2 separate regions of the Homo sapiens genome follow, and region 1 is linked to region 2. Evidence: promoter capture Hi-C in 16 types of primary human blood cells and fetal thymus (Javierre and others, 2016). All regions are on one chromosome and are shown on one strand. Each heading gives the region's core, a stretch centred on a gene start or on the middle of the fragment in contact. The rest is flanking DNA. Distances are from core to core; before and after follow the strand shown. Region 1 holds the start of MBD1 (methyl-CpG binding domain protein 1). Region 2 holds the start of HAUS1 (HAUS augmin like complex subunit 1).

Evidence for each region. The method cuts DNA at HindIII sites, captures the fragments that hold promoters and counts their contacts. A CHiCAGO score of 5 or more calls a contact.
Region 1: the fragment with the promoter of MBD1 here is called in contact with the fragment with the promoter of HAUS1 in region 2 in 1 of 17 cell types (non-activated CD4 T cells); the score reaches 5.5 in non-activated CD4 T cells.

The regions. Positions count from the first base shown.
Region 1 is chr18:50,280,025-50,285,543 of GRCh38, reverse strand. MBD1 (methyl-CpG binding domain protein 1) reads left to right here and starts at 4,021. Exons shown (of 17, transcript NM_015846.4): 1 at 4,021-4,181. CXXC1 (CXXC finger protein 1) reads left to right here. Exons shown (of 15, transcript NM_014593.4): 6 at 193-219; 7 at 297-542; 8 at 705-812; 9 at 982-1,166; 10 at 1,443-1,650; 11 at 1,729-1,839; 12 at 1,980-2,029; 13 at 2,183-2,279; 14 at 2,538-2,690; 15 at 2,805-3,197. The coding sequence ends at 2,951. RefSeq lists enhancers at 2,782-3,362, 3,363-3,943 and silencers at 4,089-4,198, 4,209-4,288. The HindIII fragment of the contact is 20,722 bases long and covers 1-5,519 here.
Region 2 is chr18:46,100,866-46,106,682 of GRCh38, reverse strand. It overlaps HAUS1 (HAUS augmin like complex subunit 1), which reads right to left and starts at 2,298. Exons shown (of 9, transcript NM_138443.4): 1 at 2,242-2,298; 2 at 1,315-1,489. The coding sequence starts at 2,271. It also overlaps a transcript of ATP5F1A not described here. RefSeq lists an enhancer at 1,894-1,983 and a silencer at 2,374-2,473. The HindIII fragment of the contact is 1,925 bases long and covers 1,784-3,708 here.

The DNA.
Region 1 (5,519 bases), core at 2,772-5,271, 4.2 Mb before region 2:
CAGAGTGGGGCCAGGTGTTTTCAGGTGGTCATGCATGTTGGTACAGATCAGGCAGGGCTGAGCATTCCTGGCAATGAGGGGTAGCGGGGAGGTGTGTCTGGGGAGGTAAGGCCAGGCCAGGTGGGTAGGGCTAGGGCAAGGCCGCCCTCCATCCACCTGGGGCTGACCTGGGCCTTCCTCCTGCCGGCACAGGAATCGTACAAGTACTTCCCTTCCTCGGTGAGTCCAGCCCCCCAGGGTGGGGTGGGGCATGCGGGCAGGGCGGTCAGGGCCAGTCCTGAGATTCTGCCCTGCAGCTCTCACCAGTGACGCCCTCAGAGTCCCTGCCAAGGCCCCGCCGGCCACTGCCCACCCAACAGCAGCCACAGCCATCACAGAAGTTAGGGCGCATCCGTGAAGATGAGGGGGCAGTGGCGTCATCAACAGTCAAGGAGCCTCCTGAGGCTACAGCCACACCTGAGCCACTCTCAGATGAGGACCTACCTCTGGATCCTGACCTGTATCAGGACTTCTGTGCAGGGGCCTTTGATGACCATGGCCTGGTGAGCAGACAGGAGCATCCACTGGTGGAAGGGTGGAGGTTACAGAAGCAGAGAGTATCCCTAATGAGGAGACAGAGGGTATGGAAGGCTGATATGGGACATGAGTAGGTGGTGGGGTTGTCACGAGCGGGGCAGGTGGGTCAGTGCATGCCCTGCTTGCAGCCCTGGATGAGCGACACAGAAGAGTCCCCATTCCTGGACCCCGCGCTGCGGAAGAGGGCAGTGAAAGTGAAGCATGTGAAGCGTCGGGAGAAGAAGTCTGAGAAGAAGGTGATGGAGAGGGTAAAGTGGATGTGGAAAGGCAGAGGGTGGGGTTGAGGGAGAGGCAGAGGTCAGAGGCTGAATGGGGCAAGAGCCAGAAAGGGCTAGAATGGAGCAAGGGTCTGGGGTCTGGGGCTGACTTTGACTCCACCCTGACCTGACTTGTCTTGCTCAACAGAAGGAGGAGCGATACAAGCGGCATCGGCAGAAGCAGAAGCACAAGGATAAATGGAAACACCCAGAGAGGGCTGATGCCAAGGACCCTGCGTCACTGCCCCAGTGCCTGGGGCCCGGCTGTGTGCGCCCCGCCCAGCCCAGCTCCAAGTATTGCTCAGATGACTGTGGCATGAAGCTGGCAGCCAAGTGAGTCATTCCTGAGAGGTTCAAGGGAGTCAGGAAGTGCATGGTAGGGCCTGACCACAGCCTTCTGTATGTCTACCAGTCAATCAGCTATCCACCAGTCACCAAACAGCCACTACCCACTCACCCATCCACCTACCCACCCACCTGCCCGTGTGTCCATCCAGCCACCATTCCGCCAGTCACCTATTTACTTCTCCTTTTGCCATTTGCGTCTATTTTGCCATTCTCACTTACTGATCACCTCACTCATTCTGTTGCTTGCTACCTTCCCTGCAGCCGCATCTACGAGATCCTCCCCCAGCGCATCCAGCAGTGGCAGCAGAGCCCTTGCATTGCTGAAGAGCACGGCAAGAAGCTGCTCGAACGCATTCGCCGAGAGCAGCAGAGTGCCCGCACTCGCCTTCAGGAAATGGAACGCCGATTCCATGAGCTTGAGGCCATCATTCTACGTGCCAAGCAGCAGGCTGTGCGCGAGGATGAGGAGGTGAGCAAGCAGGGGCGCAGCAGAGCAGGGCCTGTACTTTGTCCTTCCCAGCCTTATTGTTCCTTCCATTCCATGCAGAGCAACGAGGGTGACAGTGATGACACAGACCTGCAGATCTTCTGTGTTTCCTGTGGGCACCCCATCAACCCACGTGTTGCCTTGCGCCACATGGAGCGCTGCTACGCCAAGGTTGGGGTGTCAGACTGAGGGGGCGGACCATGTGGGAACATCAGTGGGCCAGTGGGGGACAGATTTGTTGTCTGGGTGGTGTCTTGGGAGGGCATGCAGCGCACATCCACAGTTCCCTCCATTTGTGCTCATCCCTCCAGTATGAGAGCCAGACGTCCTTTGGGTCCATGTACCCCACACGCATTGAAGGGTAAGTGAGGGTGCCACGCAGTGAGAGGTGGGGGGTTAAGGCGGGGGTCAGAAGTGGGATGTGTGTGGAGCTGGGGCAGGATACGGGCAACCAGCCAGGACAGATGGACCTCCCTTCCCTCCCTCTACTGCCCTCTCTACTCCAAATCCCCAGGGCCACACGACTCTTCTGTGATGTGTATAATCCTCAGAGCAAAACATACTGTAAGCGGCTCCAGGTGCTGTGCCCCGAGCACTCACGGGACCCCAAAGTAAGGTTTTCCCTCAGCTCCTCCCATTTTGCCCCTCCTCCCTGCCTCGCTGTCCCACATTCATCCCTTCCTTCCTCACCTCACTTTTCCTTCACTTTTTCCTCTCAGCTTCCCTGCTGCTTCACCCTCCATTCCTCCTTTTCCATGCCTCCTCACCGTTCCCTGAACCCTCCATTCTTTTCCTTCTCCCTCCTTGAGCCCCCATTCCTATTCTCCCTTATCACCGCTATTCATCCCCCCAACCTGGCCTCCTTGCAGGTGCCAGCTGACGAGGTATGCGGGTGCCCCCTTGTACGTGATGTCTTTGAGCTCACGGGTGACTTCTGCCGCCTGCCCAAGCGCCAGTGCAATCGCCATTACTGCTGGGAGAAGCTGCGGCGTGCGGAAGTGGACTTGGAGCGCGTGCGTGTGGTAGGTTTCTGTGCGGTTTTGGTGCTGCATGTGGTAGGTTTCCATGTCGGACGTGGCCGGGGCAGGCGGGGCTGCAGGTGTTCCTGCTTAGGACTCCTGCCGCTCCCTTGGCAGTGGTACAAGCTGGACGAGCTGTTTGAGCAGGAGCGCAATGTGCGCACAGCCATGACAAACCGCGCGGGATTGCTGGCCCTGATGCTGCACCAGACGATCCAGCACGATCCCCTCACTACCGACCTGCGCTCCAGTGCCGACCGCTGAGCCTCCTGGCCCGGACCCCTTACACCCTGCATTCCAGATGGGGGAGCCGCCCGGTGCCCGTGTGTCCGTTCCTCCACTCATCTGTTTCTCCGGTTCTCCCTGTGCCCATCCACCGGTTGACCGCCCATCTGCCTTTATCAGAGGGACTGTCCCCGTCGACATGTTCAGTGCCTGGTGGGGCTGCGGAGTCCACTCATCCTTGCCTCCTCTCCCTGGGTTTTGTTAATAAAATTTTGAAGAAACCAAGGAAGCTGTCTCCACATTGCTGCGGTTGCAACTGTTCCAGACTTCTGGATAAGATGGGGGGCGCCTGCACCCCGCGAGAGCCCAGGGACCCACATTCCCAGCCTCCCACGGGCAGAGGGTCTACGCAGCGCGCCTTCAGTGTGGTGACACCGCCCATGCATGCTCCTGTCTCCCACCCAGAGCTGTCGTCCGCTGTGGACGCCAGGCCCCGCCTTTTCCCCACAAGCCCCACGTTGGGGATCCGCCTCCTGCAGGGGCGCGCCCTCCCGCGTGCCTCAGTTTACCTGCGGTGTGGCACCGCCCCTTTCCCCGCCCCGCGCGCTCCCACAGCTGTTCGGCGGGGAGGAGGGAGCGGGACACGACCCCCCCTGGGGTTGATGTTCGGAGGGACCCACGAACACAGGATAGACCCCAGCGAGAGGTGGGAGAGGAGAGCGCCGGCAGGGCCAGGGAGTGCGCAGGCGCGAAGCAGCTTCCTTGCCGCGTTCGGTATCGGCTGTGGAGACCGCGGGAGGGAAGGGAGGGCGCAGGCGCAAGCCCTCCCCGACCGCTTCCCTTCAGGTTGAGGCTGGAAAGCGCATGCGCCAGCTAGATGGGCAGCGAGGAGAGCCGCAACTGCCAGTCCCTCGAAGGGGTTAGCTGTCGTTGAACGTCAGCACGCAGATGCAACTGGCTCTCGGCAGGGGGGCGCGCGCACCGCTGCGGAGCGCCGGCCCGTAGGCGCGGGAGCCTCCCTATTAAGGGCACGCGACATCGAGGCAATAGTGCGCAGGTGCTTAGCCAGAGGCGGAGCCCGAGAGGCAGGCAGCGGACTTCCGGTTCCGGGAGCAACGAACAGCCGCGGAGGCGACAGCTACCGCTTCAGAGGAGGCGGCCGCGGAGGAGGAGGAAGGGGAGGAGGGCGAGGCGGGAGGTGCAGGAGGGACCCTCGCCATGGGTCCACGGGCCTAGAGTGGCGGAAGATACCGGCCTGGTGCCAAACTGGTGAGACAGCCTTGGGGCTGGACGTGGAGAGCGCTCAGGCGGAGGATGGGAAGGAATTGTGGCTCAGAACGCTGACGGGGAGGAATGAAGGGCCCTCAGGCCGATAAGGGGGAGGAATGGCGGCGTCGGAATACTGACGAGGAGAAATGGGGGGATTTAGGCTGAGGACGGGAAGGAATGCAGCTCTGAACTCTGACAGGTAGGAGTGTCGGGATCCTGGGACGAGGACGGAGAGGAATGGTGGAGATCAGAACGCTAAAGGGAGACATCGGGGCATCTGAAGTTGAGAGAGAAATGGGGGTTCAGAACTCTGAGAGGGAGAAATGAGGGGCCCTCAGGCTGATGACAGGAGAAATAGAGGCTTTGGAATGCTGAAAGGGAGGAATAGGAGGCCCCATATAGAGGACGAGGAGCAGTAGGGGATCAGAATGGTGACAGTTAGGGATGGCATGATCCCGGGACAAGAACAGAGAGAATGGAGGAGGGTTCGGAATGCTGAGGGGAGAAATTAGGGTCTCTCTGGATGATAAGGGAGGAATGGAGGATGAGAACAGTAAGGAGGAGAAGTGGGGAACTTTTTGGCTGTAGAGGAAGGTTTGGGAGCTCAGACTAGGGAGAAATTGTGGGTGAGAACATTGAAGGAGAAGAAAAATAAGGGGGGAGGTCTTGGGCTGAGGAAGGGGAGGCATGGGAGGCTTCCAGTGTGAGGAATGGAAAAGATGAGGGGCTGTTCAGGCTATGGGTTGGAGCAGTTGTGTCTCGCAGAGGAAGTCGAGGTTGTAACACTGAGGTAGCAGGATAAGAGGACATCAGGCAGAGAAGGAATGGAGTGGTTAAAACACTGAAGGAGGGAAATTAGGAACTCCTGGGTCAAGGAAGGGGGGAATGAGAGACTACTGAAGTCAAGTAGTGAGGGCAAGAGAAATGGGGCCCTTTGGGGCTGAGGATGGGGACTATGGGGGTCTTGGGGTGATAAAATAGAGGGATAGAGGCCCTTAGGTCAGTGACAGGGAGGAATGAGGGGGAAGGATGAAAAGTTTCTGGATTGGCAGTGAGGAGAAATGATGGGTTGTCAGTCTGAGGATAGAGAGGAGTAGGGGATTAGGACACTGAGAATAAGAAACAGGGATCCTTGGGTTGAGGAATGATGATATCCTAGGCCCAGAATAGGAAAGAATGGGGTGAGAATATGAGGGGTTTCTTTTCCATATATGGGCTGGTTGCCTGTGGCAGGTCCTAGGGCTTGGGCAAGCACTAATGGATACCAGTGATTTGTGTGGCCTGGGGCACAGTGTTGTCCCTTCCTAGAGCCTCAGTTTCCCTCATCCCTTCCACCCC
Region 2 (5,817 bases), core at 1,049-3,548:
TAGAATCAAATATAAACTGCACTATATTCAAAATATCATATGTAACAAATACCATACATCTGATTAAATATAGGGCAAATGCAGGCCTCACTTCCTCTCTTTGGTGTATTCTCGTATCTAAAAAGATTTTTGTCAATCTTTACTTTTGTGGTTTGTATTATCAAAACAATAGGCATCTTGAATGCACTTTTTCTTTTTTTCTTTTTTTTTTTTTGAGACGGAGTCTTGCTCTGTCGCCCAGGCTGGAGTGCAGTGGTGCGATCTCGGCTCACTGCAAGCTCCGCCTCCTGGGATCACGCCATTCTCCGGCCTCAGCCTTCCGAGCAGCTGGAACTACAGGCGCCCGCCACCACGCCCGGCTAATTTTTGTATTTTTAGTAGAGACGGTGTTTCACCGTGTTAGCCAGGATGGTCTTGATCTCCTGACCTTGTGATCCGCCCGCCTCGGCCTCCCAAAGTGCTGGGATTACAGGCGTAAGCCACCGTGCCCGGCCTTGAATGCACTTTTTCAAACTATATATGCCCAGCAGAAAATTCTAATGCAATCTCCTGATACGTAGTCATAGAGTAATTTCGTCCAAGTCTCACATTTCATGGCCACCACCTCAGGTGTCCTGATAGGTCCGTATGACTAAATCATGGAGACCGGAAACAGAAAAAACAGATAGGTAAGTAAAAAACCACAAGGCATCTTGTGTGTCAGACTAACAAGTTTAGACTCTTTTAAGGCTTACTGTTTTGCTATCAGAGTACCAATAAGATATTTAGTATAATAACATTTATTACTTAGAGAATTACTACTGGCCAGGCAGGGTGGCTCATGCCTCTAATCCTACCACTTTGGGAGGCTGAGGCAGGCGGATCACCTGAAGTCAGGAGTTCGAGACCAGCCTGGCCAATATTGTGAAACCCTGTCTTTACTAAAACACAAAAATTAGCCGGGTGTGGTGGTGCAGGCCTGTAGTCCCAGCTACTTGGGAGGCTGAGGCATGAGAATCACTTGAACCCAGGAGATGGAGGTTGCAGTGAGCTGAGATCACACCACTGCACTCCAGCCTGGGCGACAGAGCAAGATTGTCTAAAATATATACACACACACACACACACACACACACACACACACACACACACATACATATACATATATATAAACATAAAACAATAAAGTTACTACTATAACAGAGTGGAAGAAAATCTGGGAAAAATAAAGGAGCAAAACAAGTAGTCTACAGTAAATTAATCCTGTATACTTTAGTGTTATAAAATTTGGTTACCTCTATTTATTCTCGTTCAAAACTCTGGACTTAATCTCACCTTCTGACTCGTATTCACTTGCTTTCTGCTTCAAGTCCTCTATTACCAGGTAGACATCCCTGTCCCGGACCCTGTTGCGTTCTGAAAGGTGATGTAAAATCTCTGTGGTCCGTGGGTTCACCTCATACTGTGGAATAGGATGATCTCCAAATATTTTTTTTAACCACGCAGCAACCTAACCATTAAAAGAAAGACAAATATTATAAGCCTTGTTTACTGTAATGGCTCGATGAGAATATGACAAAGAAGTGATCAAAAGCAAACTAAATGCTTTCTGTGACTATTTTGGAGTCCTACTTCACAACCTCACTTGTCTTTAGGGAGATACTAGATATCAGGAAATAAAAAGTGAGCAAGTACACAAAGAAACGTACAATACTGAAAATTACCAGAGAACAATCCGTTCTTTTCCAAATCTGCAAAAGCGGTACAGGCTAACAATTTGCCTCGCTTGAAAAACCTTAAAGCTTAATAGACCATAATAATGCGAACGCATTATTAGACCGTGCATGGTCTGAAAAAAGCAATTGTCCCTCGATCACCAGAAGCCCCGCCGCGCCGGGAGGCTCCCAGTGTTGGGATGCAGGGCGCGGAAGCAGTTCAGATGTGGAAGCCGCCGGGCTGAGCAGCGAACCGGAAGGCGGGTTTGGCTTCATAAGTCCCACTCCAGAGTCTGTGGACACGGGCTGCTCAACGCCTCTCCCGGGCCAGATCCAAACAAGGGGAGGCCCGGGCAGGAAGGGAAAGGCCTTCAGGAGAGTCTAAGCACGGGGGGCTTGCAGATAGTGACGGCGGCACTAAAAGACGGATGTGTGGAATAGGGGAGAGAAAAGTAGACGTGGCGCGCACAGGAGACCCGCTGTCGGCGCGGGGGTGTCAAAAACGCGTTTTCCAGGAGGCCAACGATCCCCATTCCCGCCCCATCACCTGCGTTTCTCTCTCCTCCTGCGGCTCCATAGCTGCGGCTCCCGCCACTTTACTAGGAACTCCTAGCGGGAGATGCGCCCCGCTCACTCCCTAGGCCCCGCCCACACGCCGTTGGCACCCGCCCCTCGCCGGGCCCGGGATTTCTGGGAGTTGTGGTTTTACCTGAGACTCCTGGCCGTTGAGCCCCTGTGCAAGGCTGGTCGAAGGCTCTGGCATTGCAAGCCTCGCTTCGTTGCCACTTCCCAGCTCTTCCCGCCTTCCGCGGTATAATCAACACTACGAGAGATAGAGCCGCCTAGAACCAGGTTGTTTTTTCTTTCTTTTATTTTTATTTCTTGTTTGAATCACTTGTCGTTAAAAAAAAGTACTTGAAACGTTTGGTTCTTGCTTAGCAAGATGTTTGTGTTTCTTCCACATTGATTGCATCCACTCAGAATTTATATTCTACCCTGGCAATATGAGCTGAGGCAATCTTAACTTGATCCGTTAGTTCCCCCAACCTAAAAACTAGGGACATTTTTTTTTTTTGAGACAGAGTCTCGCTTTGTCGCCCAGGCTGGAGTGCAGTGGCATGATCTCGGCTCACTGCAACCTCTGCCTCCTGGGTTCAAGCGATTCTTCTGTCTCAGCCTCCCAAGTAGCTGGGACTACGGGCAAGCGCCACCACGCCTGGCTAATTTTTGTGTTTTTAGTAGAGACGGGGTTTCACCATATTGGCCAGGCTGGTCTCGAACTCCTAACCTCATGATCCGCCCACCTCGGCCTCCCAAAGTGCTGGGATTACAGGCGTGAGCCAGCGCGCCCAGCTTTTTTTTTTTTTTTTTTTTTTTTGAGATGGAGTCTCTGTTGTTCAGGCTGGAGGGCAGTGGCACGATCTCGGCTCTCGGCTCTCAGCTCACTGCCACCTCTGCTTCCCGGGTTCAAGCGATTCTCCTGCCTCAGCCTTCCGAGTAGCTGGGATTACAGGTGTGCATCACCACGCCCAGCTAATTTTTTGTATCTTAGTAAAGATGGGATCTCATCAGGTTGGCCAGCTTGGTCTCGAACTCCTGACTTCAGGTGATCCGCCCGCCTTGGCCTCCCAAAGTGCTGGGATTACAGGCACTGCGCCCGACCTTTTCTTTTCTTTTTGAGATGGAGTGTTTCTCTGTCGCTTAGGCTGGAGTGCAGAGTGACATGATCTTGGCTCACTGCGACCTCCAACCCCCGTCCCCAGGCTCAAGCAATTCTCCTGTCTCATCCTCTCTAGTAGCTGGGATTACAGGCTTGTGCTAGCATGCAGGGATAATTTTTTTATTTTTAGTAGAACGGGGGGTTTCACCACGTTGATCAGGCTGGTCTCAAACTCCTGACCTCAAGTGATCTGCCTGCCTCGGCCTCTCAAAGAGCTAGGATTACAGGTGTGAGCCAACACACCCAGCCTAAAATGATTTTCTTTTCAAAGGAAACTTACTAGCAAGCCAAGCTTATTTATTATTTATTTTATTTTATTTTTAGAGACAGGGTCTTGCTCTTTCGTCCAAGCTGGAGTATAGTGGTGATCACAGTTCACTGCAACCTTGAACTCCTGGGCTCAAGCAATCCTCCCGCTTCAGCCTCCTTAGTAGCTGGGACTATAGGCGTGCACCACCACACCCAGCTAACTTTTTGTATTTTTTGTAGAAAGAGGGTCTCACTATGTTGCCCAGGCTGTTTTTGAACTCCTGGCCCCAAGTGATGCTCCCACTTGGGCCTCTCAAAGTGCTGGGATTACAAGCATGAGGCACCACACCCAGCCTGTCTTGCTTATTCTTTTTGCTTCAAACATATCTCTGCTCTGGCTGGATGCGGTGCCTCACACCTATATTCTCAGCACTTTGGGAGGCCGAGGCAGGTGGATCACCTGAGGTCCGGAGTTCAAGACCAGCCTGACCAACATGGCAAAACCCCATCTCTACTAAAAATACAAAAATTAGCCAGGCATGGTGGCACGTGCCTGTAATCCCAGCCACTTGGGAGGCTGAGGCAAGAGAATCACTTGAACCCTGGAGGCAGAGTTTGCAGTGAGCTGAGATTGAGACACTGCACTCCAGCCTGGGCGACAGAGTGAGAATCCACCACAAAAAACAAAAAAAAACAAAAACTAAATATATCTCTGCTCTGTAACCAAATTTCAGATAAACTGGTGCAGCCCTTCAGTATGGGGCAAAAAAAGTTATCTTTATGTCTTTTGTCCACTTTTATCACTACAAATTTTACAAAATATCCCTGCAATTTTTTTTTTTTTTTGAGAGGGAGTCTTGTGCTGTTGCCTAGGCTGGAGTGCAGTTGAGCAATCTCGGCTTACTGCAAGCTCCGCCTCCCGGGTTCACGCCATTCTCCTGCCTCAGCCTCCCGAGTAGCTGGGACTACAGGTGCCCGCCACCACACCCGGCTAATTTTTTGTACTTTTAGTAGAGACAGGGTTTCACCATGTTAGCCAGGATGGTCTCGATCTCCTGACCTCGTGATCCGCCCACCTCAGCCTCCCAACGTGCTGGGATTACAGGCATGAGCCACCATGCCCGGCCTTTTTTTTTTTTTCAGACAGAATCTCACTGTGTTGCCCAAGCTGGAGTGCAGTGGTCACTGCAACCTCCATCTCCCAGGTTTAAGTGATTCTCGTGCCTCAGCCTCCTAAATAGCTGGGATTACAGGCATGTGCCACCATGCCCAGCTAAAGATGGGGCAGGGGGTGCAGGGATCTCGATATGTTGGCCAGACTCATCTTGAACTCCTGACTTCAAGTGATCAACCTGCTTCAGCCTCCCAAAGTGCTGGGATTACAGGTGTGAGCCACCATGCCGGCTAATTTTGTTGTTATTGTTGTTGTTGTTTTGAGATAGTCTCACTCCTGTCGCGCATACTGAAGTGCAGAGGCGCAATCTTGGCTCACTGCAACCTCCACCTGGCTCACTGCAACCTTCACCTCCTGGATTCAAGCGATTCTCCTTCCTCAGCCTCCTGAGTAGCTGGGGTTACAGGTGTGCACCACCACCCCCAGCTAATTTTTGATTTTTTAGTAGAGACGGGGTTTTGCCATGTTGGCCAGGCTGGTCTTGAACTCCTGACCTCAGGCGATCTGCCTGCCTTGGCCTCCCAATGTGCTAGGATTACATGCGTGAGCCACCATGCCCGGCCTTGTTGTTTTTAGAAACGATATTTTTTCCTGTTAGCTTGTGAAAGTTGATTGGGTCATTCTTGTCATCCCCAACTAAAACAGTGTCAAGAGGTAAAGGGAAAAAAAAGCACTCAGGGCACATAACATTGCTCCAAAAATGTAATTATCTGTAAGCCTGGCTGCTGAAACTGCCCGCTATAACCTAAACCAGTTTTTTTGTTTGTTTGTTTTGAGATGGAGTCTCACTCTGTCGCCCAGGCTGGAATGCAATGGCATGATTTTGGCTCACTGCAACCTCTGCCTCCAGGTTCATGTGATTCTCCTGCCTCAGCCTCCCAAGTAGCTGGGATTACAGGCACCCGCCAACATACCCAGCCAATTTTTGTATTTTTAGCAGAGACGGGGTTTCATCATGTTGGTCAGGCTGGTCTTGAACT